Regions from separate parts of the Homo sapiens genome. Here region 1 is linked to region 2. The links are contacts of gene promoters, found by promoter capture Hi-C in blood cells and fetal thymus (Javierre and others, 2016). All regions are on one chromosome and are shown on one strand. The core of a region is centred on a gene start or on the middle of the fragment in contact, and the rest is flanking DNA. Distances in the headings are between cores, read along the strand shown. Region 1 has its middle 4.9 kb from the start of SEC14L5. Region 2 holds the start of SEPTIN12 (septin 12).

The links. Contacts are between HindIII fragments. The CHiCAGO score rates a contact against its expected background, and 5 or more counts as called.
Region 1: a fragment that was not itself captured here is called in contact with the fragment with the promoter of SEPTIN12 in region 2 in 1 of 17 cell types (endothelial precursors); the score reaches 6.0 in endothelial precursors.

What each region holds. Positions count from the first base shown.
Region 1 is chr16:4,951,153-4,955,699 of GRCh38, forward strand. No RefSeq gene overlaps it. Among named protein-coding and RNA genes, the nearest start is that of SEC14L5, 4.9 kb to the right of the region's middle. The HindIII fragment of the contact is 2,451 bases long and covers 1,963-4,413 here.
Region 2 is chr16:4,785,599-4,790,157 of GRCh38, forward strand. SEPTIN12 (septin 12) reads right to left here and starts at 2,747. Exons shown (of 10, transcript NM_144605.5): 1 at 2,682-2,747; 2 at 1,882-2,069; 3 at 382-507; 4 at 209-290. The coding sequence starts at 2,047. It also overlaps a transcript of SMIM22 not described here. The HindIII fragment of the contact is 19,587 bases long and covers 1-3,634 here.

The DNA.
Region 1 (4,547 bases), core at 1,938-4,437, 170 kb after region 2:
AGGTGAGCCATCAGACCCAGCTGAATTGCATACTTTAAATAAATGAATTCTGTATCTCCAAAAGGCAGAGTTATCACCTTCCTATACTGTGTTGGCCACCCCCTCAAATGTCCAACGTCAAGTCCTCACTCCCCTTCACCCTAAATTCCCGTGGGAAATGCCCCTCCTTCTAAGCCCGCACAGTTACAAACATGTACCCGGGTCCTCTGGTGGTCCCTGTGCAATTACTTTTCCTCACGCAATTTCCACCAACCTTCAGGATAACACTATGGTTAACCCCATTAAAAAAAAAGTTTCCAATGTGATTTTTTTTTTTTTTTGAGACGGGGTTTCACTCTGTCACCCAAGCTGAAGTGCAGTGGCACAATCTCGGCTCATTGCGACCTCTGCCTCCAGGTTCAAGCGATTCTCATACCTCAGCCATCCGAGTAGCTGGGATTATAGGGGCCTGCCACCACGCCTGGTTAATTTTTGTATTTTTTTGTAGAGACAGGGTCTCACCATGTTGTCCAGGCTGGTCTCGAACTCCTGACCTCAGATGATCTGCCCACCTTGGCCTACCAAAGTGCTGAGATTATAGGAGTGAGCCACTGTGCCTGGCCTCAATGTGATTTTTTAAAACAAGGCTAATCAGGTGAAGCAGTGGGAGTGGAGAAAACAAAACAAAACAAAACAAAACAAACACATCTGCAACGGGTTGAGACAATTAGTTGTAAACACCACTGCACTCAGACCAGCTCCTGTTATTTTTTTTATTGCAGTAAGATATATATAAAACATTGCCCATCTTAATTAATCATTTTTCAGTGTGCAGTTCAGTGGCATTCACATTATTGTGTAACCATCACACCATCCATCTCCAAAACTCCTTTTTTTTTTTTTTTTTTTTTGAGAGTCTCGCTCTGTTGCCCAGGCTGGAGTGCAGTGGTGCAATCTTGGCTCACCATAACCTCCGCCTCCTGGGTTCAAGCGATTCTCCTGCCTCAGCCTCCCGAGTATCTGGGATTACAGGTGCGTGCCACCATGGCCGGCTAATTTTTGTATTTTTAGTAGAAATGGGGTTTCACTATGTTGGCCAGCCTGGTCTCAAACTCCTGACCTCGTGATCCGCCCGCCTCGGGCTCCCAAAGTGCTGGGATTACAGGCGCGAGCCACTGTGCCCGGCCCAGAACTCTTTTCATCTTCTAAAACCCAAACTCTGTGTCCATTAATTAACTCCCCATGCCCCTCCCCCCAGCCCCTAGCCCCGCCACCGTTCTTCTTTCTGTCCCTGTGGATTGGGCTCCTCTAGGTGACTCAGATGTGGAATCACTCAGTTCTTGCCCGTTCAGCATAATGTCCTCCAGGTTCATCCAAGTCGTAGTGCGTGTGGGTGCTTTATTCCTCTCTAATGCTGAATAATTTTTCATGTTACCCCTATTTTTTTTTTTTTTTGAGATGGAGTCTCACTCTATTGCCCAGGCTGGAGTATAGTGGCATGATCTCAGCTCACTGCAACCTCCACAATCCGGGTTCAAGCAATTCTCCTGCCTCAGCCTCCCGAGTAGCTGGGATTACAGGGGTGCGCCACCACGCCAGCCAATTTTTGTATTTTTAGCAGAGATGGGTTTTGCCATGTTGGCCAGGCTGGTCTCAAACTCCCGACCTCAGGTGATCCACCCACCTCAGCCTCCCAAAGTGCTGGGATTACAGCCGTGAGCCACTGTGCACAGCCCATGTTACCCCATGTTAAAAGGAGGGGACATTGGCTGGGCGCAGTGGCTCATGCTTGTAATCCCAGCACTTTGGGAGGCCGAGGCGGGTGGATGACAAGGTCGGGAGATCGAGACCATGGTGGCTAACACGGTGAAACCCCGTCTCTACTAAAAATACAAAAAAATTAGCCGGGCGTGGTGGTGGGCGCCTGTAGTCCCAGCTACTCGGGAGGCTGAGGGAGGAGAATGGCATGAACCTGGGAGGCGAAGCTTGCAATGAGCCGAGATCACGCCATTGCACTCCAGCCTGGGCGATAGAGTGAGACTCTGTCTCAAAAAAAAAAAAAAAAAAAAAAGAGGGGACATTGAGGCAACAAAGCTAGGGGGTGGCAGGGTCAGAACGCACATCAAGGTTGGTCTGACTCCTGTACCCGCCCCAAGTGCCCGGCCACCTGACCCCTCCCACAGGGCCACCCCTCCCATCCCCTGGGCCACCCTCCTCCCGCTGTGTTCCATTCTCTCCTTTGGGCTTCATGTAGCAGTTGGTGGAGCCCAGAAGTCTTTGTGAAGTGAATGGACTTGGGTGCCCGGCTGGGGGTCAAGGTGGGTGGGTCCTGGCTGTGTAGCCCCCTGGGTCAGACTGCCTCAGACTCAGCCTCTGCTCAGTCAAAGCTGCTCCCATGACCAGGACTGTTCCACAGAGTTGTGCAGGTTACAACCTATACACCTGTACGTAACAGCCCTGCCAACCATCATGATAGCCCTGGAGATTCCCAAATCCAGGAGGCCTCAGGGCTCTGCTTCGAGAAGGGGCAAGAAGCAACACAACGTAGAGGCCACCCGGGACGAATGAGATGTCCCCCAGGAAGCAGATAAACAGATGGATGGTTTCCAGGGGCTGCGGGAAGGGAGGAAGGAGGAGTGACAGCTTCATGGGTATGAGTTTCCTTTTGGGGTGATGAAAATGTTCCAAAACTAGAAAGTGGTGCTGGCTGTACGTGCATCTTGTGAATATACCAAAAGCCAGAGAATTGTACACTAAGAAATGGTTAAAATGGTAACTTTTGTGTTATGTGCATTTTTTTTTTTTGAGATAGAGTCTCGCTCTGTCACCCAGGCTGGAGTGCAATGACATGATCTTGGCTCACTGCAACCTCCACCTGCTGGGTTCAAGCAATTCTCCTGCCTCAGCCTCCTGAGTAGCTGGGATTACAGGCATGCAGCACACTAAGAAATGGTTAAAATGGTAACTTTTGTGTTATGTGCTTTTTTTTTTTTTGAGATGGAGTTTCTCTCTTGTTGCCCAGGCTGGAGTGCAATGGCATGATCTTGACTCACCGCAACCTCTGCCTCCCGGGTTCAAGCGATCCTCCTGCCTCAGCCTCCCCAGTAGCTGGGATTTCAGGCATGCATCACCACACCCAGCTAATTTTGTATTTTTAGTAGAGACGAGGTTTGTTCATGTTGATCAGGCTGGCCTCGAACTCCCAACCTCAGGTGATCTGCCCACCTCGGTCTCCCAAAGTGCTGGGATTACAGGCATGAGCCATCGTGCCCAGCTGATTTTTTTCTTTTTTTTTTTTTTTTTTGAGATGGAGTCTCACTCTGTTGCCCAGGCTGGAGTGCAGTTGTGTGATCTCAGCTCACTGCACCCTCCACCTCCCAGGTTCAAGTGATTCTCCTACCTCAGCCTCCTGAGTAGCTGGGATTACAGGCATGCGCTACCATGCCTGGCTAATTTTTTCATTTTTAGTAGAGACAGGTTTTTGCCATGTTGTCCAGGCTGGTCTCGAACTCCTGACCTCAGGTGATCCGCCCACCTCGGCCTCCCAAACTGTTGGGATTACCGGCATGAGCCACTGTGCTCGGACCATTTTGCCACAATAAAATTAAGCTGGGGACCGTACCCTGCTTACTGCATCTTCTTCAGCTTCAGAGCCATCCCAGGGCCCATTATGTATTCCAGGGTCTTAACCCCCATTCTCAATGTCACACTGAGCCATTCAACTCAGGACATTCCCAGCAGGATGCCTTCCAGGAACATCTGCCTTTGGATGGGGTCCAGAGTTTTACTCAAACAAATGCATCACTAATGGTTGAATCTTCTCTGGCAGTGGCCCATCTGCTGGGAAGACATTCAGAGACATGAGGTGGTTTCTGGGGTTCCCAAAACCCACCTCCACAAAAGGCAGCATTGGCTGGGTCATTCTTGCAGGGCAGGTGGGAAGCAGCAGATAGAGGCTAAAGATCCTGCCCTGGGACTGAGTTCATGCCCAGCACCCCTGGGGAATCAGCCTATCCTTGCAGCGCCTTCTTGTCCTGGAGCCAGGGTGCCTGGAGATCTTGCAGTTCAGGGCTTGGAAATCACATCTTCCCGGAGCATCAGCTGCAGCTCTAGGAGAAGAAGTCATTGGAGAACGAGAGTCCTGGGTATGAGTTCCTTACTAGCTGTGTGGCCTTGGGCAAGTTATTCAGTCTCTCTGTGCCTTGTGCCTTAGTTTCCCTACGTGTAAGATGAGGATTAAAATAGTTTTGACTGTATATGGGCTTTTAATTGAGATGAAAGCCACGTAACAGAAAATTAATCATTTTAATATTGTGGCCCCAATTCAGTGGCATGTGCATTTGCAACGTTGTGCAACCACCACCTCTATCACATTCCAAGACATTTTCATTGCTCTGGGGTTGCTTTGAGGATTAAATGCATTCGTGTTTGTAAAGCTTTAGAATGGTGCTAGGTATAGTAAGCGCCAATGGAGTGTCAACAAGTGGTAGGAATAATTAGTAGAACAGTAATAATAGGCAACTGGGCCAGGTGTGGTGGCTCATGTCTGTAATCCCAGCACTTTGGGT
Region 2 (4,559 bases), core at 1,497-3,996:
CCCCATCTCAACTAAAAATACAAAAAAAATTAGCTGGGCGTGGTGGCGGGCGCCTGTAATCCCAGCTACTTCGGGAGGCTGAGGCAGGAGAATCACTTGAACCTGGGAGGTGGAGGTTGCAGTGAGCCGAGATCATGCCATTGCACTCCAGCCTGGGTGACAAGAGTGAAACTCTGCCTAAAAAAAAAAAAAAAGAGAGAGAACCTACCAGTTGTCATTGTTGATCTGGTCCCCGAAGCCGGGCGTGTCCGTCACCGTCAGCTTCAGCTTCACACCCTTCTCCTCTATGACTGTGGAGGGAGAGCAGAGTCGGGAGAGACTGGACCCAGGTGGGATGGGGTGGGGCAGGGTGGGGTGAGGTGTGGGCAGGGGCTCACTCACCATGGGTCAGTGAATGCAGCTGCAGCGTCTGGGGTGTGGGCACCCCCAAGCCCGGTGGGTTTGACTTCCACACTTTGGACTTGAACAGCGTGTTCACCATCGTGGACTTGCCCAGCCCGCTTTGCCCTGGGAGTGGCAACCGGATGACAGCAGTTAGGGTGGGCGTTTTAGGCAGTTTTTCTCTAACTCTTTACTTTTCTATTTTATTTTTGGAGACAGGTTCTCACTCTGTCACCCAGGCTGGAGTGCAATGATGCAATCCCCGTTCACTGCAGCCTCGACCTTCCCAGACTCTAGTGATTCTCGCACCTCGGCCTCCCTAGTAGCTGGGACTGTAGGCACACGCCACCATACCCAGCTGATTTTTGCACTGCTTTTTTTTTTTTTTTTTTTGAGACGCAGTCTCGCTCTGTCACCCAGGCTGGAGCGCGATGGTGGGATCTCGGTTCACTGCAAGCTCCGCCTCCCAGATTCACGCCATTCCCCTGTCTCAGCCTCCCAAGTAGCTGGGACTACAGGCGCCCGCCACCACGCCTGGCTAATTTTTTTGTATTTTTAGTAGAGACGGGGTTTCACCATGTTAGCCAGGATGGTCTTGATTTCCTGACCTCATGATCCGCCTGCCTCAGCCTCCCAAAGTGCTGGGATTACAGGCGTGAGCCACCACACCCGGCCTTGCACTGTTTTTTAATTTTTAAGACAGGGTCTCAATCTGTCACCCAGACTCAAGTGATCGCAGCTCACTGCAACCTCCACCCTCAGGTTCAAACGATCCTCCCACCTCAGCCCCCCAAGTAGCTGGGATTCAGGTGCATGTCACCATGCCTGGCTAATTTTTAAATTTTTTTTGTAGAGATGGGGTCTTGCTGTGTTGCCTAGGCTGGTCATGAACTCCTGGCCTCCAGGGATCCTTCTGCTTCAGTCTTGCTCTGTCACCCAGGCTGGAGTACAGTGGCGCAATCTCGGCTCACTACAACATCTGCCTCCCAGGTTCAAGCAATTCTCCTGCCTTAGCCTCCTAAGTAGCTCCTAAGTACAGGCGCCCACCACCACGCCTGGCAAATTTTTGTATTTTTAGTAGAGACGGAGTTTCCCCATGTTGGCCAGGCTGTTTTCGAACTCCTGACCTCAAGTGACCCTCCTGCCTTGGCCTTTCAAAGTGCTGGAATTACAGGCTTGAGCCACCATGCCCGGCCTCATTTTTGTACTTTTTGTAGACATTAGGTTTTGCTAGTCTCAAACTCCTGAGCTCAAGTGATCCACCCACCTCAGTCTCCCAAAACCCTGGATTATAGGTGTGAGCCACCGCTCCAGGCACATTTTTGTCTTTTAATGACTCAGCATTTCTCAAATTTTCAATGACAACATCCCTGTGAGGTGCTATTATCAGGCCCACCTAAGAGATGGGGAGGGGCGACAGGCTGCCAAAGGTGAGGCCACACGCCCAGGCACGCGTAGCACTGTGGGTCTGTCCTGCCGTGGGCCCTACCTCTCACTCACCCACCACCATGATGTTGAACTCAAACCCCATCTTCATAGCCTTGATCTTCAGCTGGTCCAGCACAGCCTCAATGCCCACAGGACCAAGCATCTCGCAGGGTGGGGTGCTGGGGCTGGAGGGCTGCGAGGACAGGCAGGGAGAGGGGGAGCGCCTCAGGGGGTCCATGGGGGCCAAGGGTTCGAGATGCCTGTCACCAGGTGGGTGGGGAGAAGGGGGTCACTGGGGCTCAGAGGAGCCCACATTGACCTCTCCTATCTGAACCCCTATTTGAGCTTGGCCGTTGGCCAACCCCCTCCACACTTCATGCCTCTGGTGTACCCTAAGTGCCTGTAGTCCCAGGGGTGTGGCAAGGGTGCCTGTGGGGAGCTGTTTCTGCAGGGTGCCTCAACACCCATCCAGAGAGGCTCCGCTGCCCAAGGGTCTGCCCTGTCCCCACCTACAGCCCAGGCAGGGGCCTCTCAGGTCGCTTCCCCCAGCAGAGCCTGGAGGGCCAGGCAAAGTCCAGGATGGGTGTTTGCAGCCAGGCTGGAGTCCTGGAGGGGCTTCAGGGAGTGTGTATGGGGTGAAGTGGCTCCCGTCCCAGCAGGAAACTTGGGCAGGGGGCTCAGGAGGAGGTGCCCCCACTTTCCCCAGGGGGACACACAGCAGAGTTGATAGAGAGCGAGAAAGACGGCACAGGCATGAAGGTGACGGAGACAGAGAGAGAGAGACCAAGGTCAGGCAGGGAAGATGGCTGGGAGGGAGCGGTGCGAAGAGCCCACGGGGGGCAGAGAGAGAGAGAAGCAGCCTGCTGTGACACCTGGTGGACGTGGGTCCTGGTGGAGCTTCCAGGAGCTGCCTTGTCCTGGCAGGGCCTGGTGTGTGTGATGGGGGAGGGGAGAGGGTGACAGTTAACCGAAGAATCTGAGCTCCATCTGCACTTGCTGTGACCCCCACCTGGAGGCTTCTCTGCAGCAGGAGCAGGAGCTGTTACCCTTCTAATCCCCACAATGACCCCAGCCTAATAATACAATAATCCCCAAGTAGAACCAGGGGCCCAAGGCCCCCTCGTCAGCTGGGCTCCCACCTCCAAGCTGACGCCCTCAACCACTCTGCTGGGGTGAGCAAACCCAGGCCCCACAGCTGGCTAGCGGGATATCCGTGTCCACGATTGGCGCCATGTGTTTTAAGTTGCAGCGTCAAAAACATGAAGAGATTGCTTTAGCAAATATTTACCCAGTCCTGACTCTGCACATGGCATCGTTCTAGGAGCCCAAAGATGTTAACTTGTTTAATAATCAAGCCCTGTGAAGTAAGTGCTGTTACTACCCCAAGCTGATAGATAAGAGAGGGTCAGGTGAGGAGGTGGCAGAGTCTCTGCCGCTCTGAGTCTGTGTGCTCACCCTCTACTGCCTTTTTCTGGTTTACAGAAACATCTAGATTTCCGGTGTATCTTAGAGGTTATCACCCTGACTTGAGATGCCCTCTTTAAATAGGCCATGTGCTTTCCAGACTGTGGTCCTCACCCCTGCCTTACTGTCTCTCTGATAAGCTGTTTCTTTTTTTGTTGTTTGTTTTTGAGACAGCCTCGCTCTGTTGCCCTTGCTGGAATGCAGTGGCGCGATCTCGGCTCACTGCAACCTCCGCCTCCTGGGTTCAAGCAATTCTCTTGCCTCAGCCTCCCAAGTAGCTGGATTACCGGTGTGCACCACCACGCTAATTTTGTATTTTTAGTAGAGAAGGGGTTTCACCACATTGGTCAGGCTAGTCACAAGCTTCTGACCTCAAGTGATCCACCAACCCTGGTCTCCCAAAGTGTTGGGATTAGTGAGCCACCATGCCTGGCCTTTTTTTTTCTTTTTTCCTTTTTTTCTTTTTTTTTTTGAGACGGAGTCTCGCTCTGTCACCCAGGCTGGAGTTTAGTGGCATGATCTCGGCTCACTGTAAGCTCTGCCTCCCGGGTTCACGCCGCTCTCCTGCCTCAGCCTCCCGAGTAGCTGGGACTACAGGCGCCTGCCACCACGCCCGGCTAATTTTTTCCTATTTTTAGTAGAGACTGGTTTTCCCTGTGTTAGCCAGGATGGTCTCGATCTCCTGATCTCGTGATCTGCCCTCCTCGGCCTCCCAAAGTGCTGGGATTACAGGCGTTAGCCCCTGCGCCCAGCCCTTTTTAAAATTTTTTTGAGACACGGTCTCACTATGTTGCCCATGCTGGTCTCAAACTCCTGGGTTCTAGTGATCCTCTCACCTCAGCCTCCCTAAATGCTGAGATTACAGACGTGAACCACCATGCCCAGCCTGATAAGCTGTTTCTTATACCAAGTCCATCTCACACAGTTAATTCTTTCTTGTTTCCTGGTACTTGACTTCACAAGGCTTAGGCATTCCTGTGTCCTTGCTATTGGCAAATGTTTTCTCTTTCTTTTTTCTTTCTTTTCTCCTTTCTTTTCTTTCTTTTTTTTTTTTCTTTTTTGGGACAGGGTCTCACTTTGTCACCCAAGTTGGAGTGCAGAGGCACAATGACAGCTCACTGCAGCCTCGACTTCCTGGGTTCAAGTGATCCTCCTGCCCCAGCCTCCCTAGTAGCTGGGACTTCAGGTACGTAGACCATGCTGGGCTAATTTTTTTACTTTTTGTAGAGATGAGGTCTCCCTATGTTGCCCAAGATTGTCTTGAACTCCTGGGGTCAAGGGGTCCA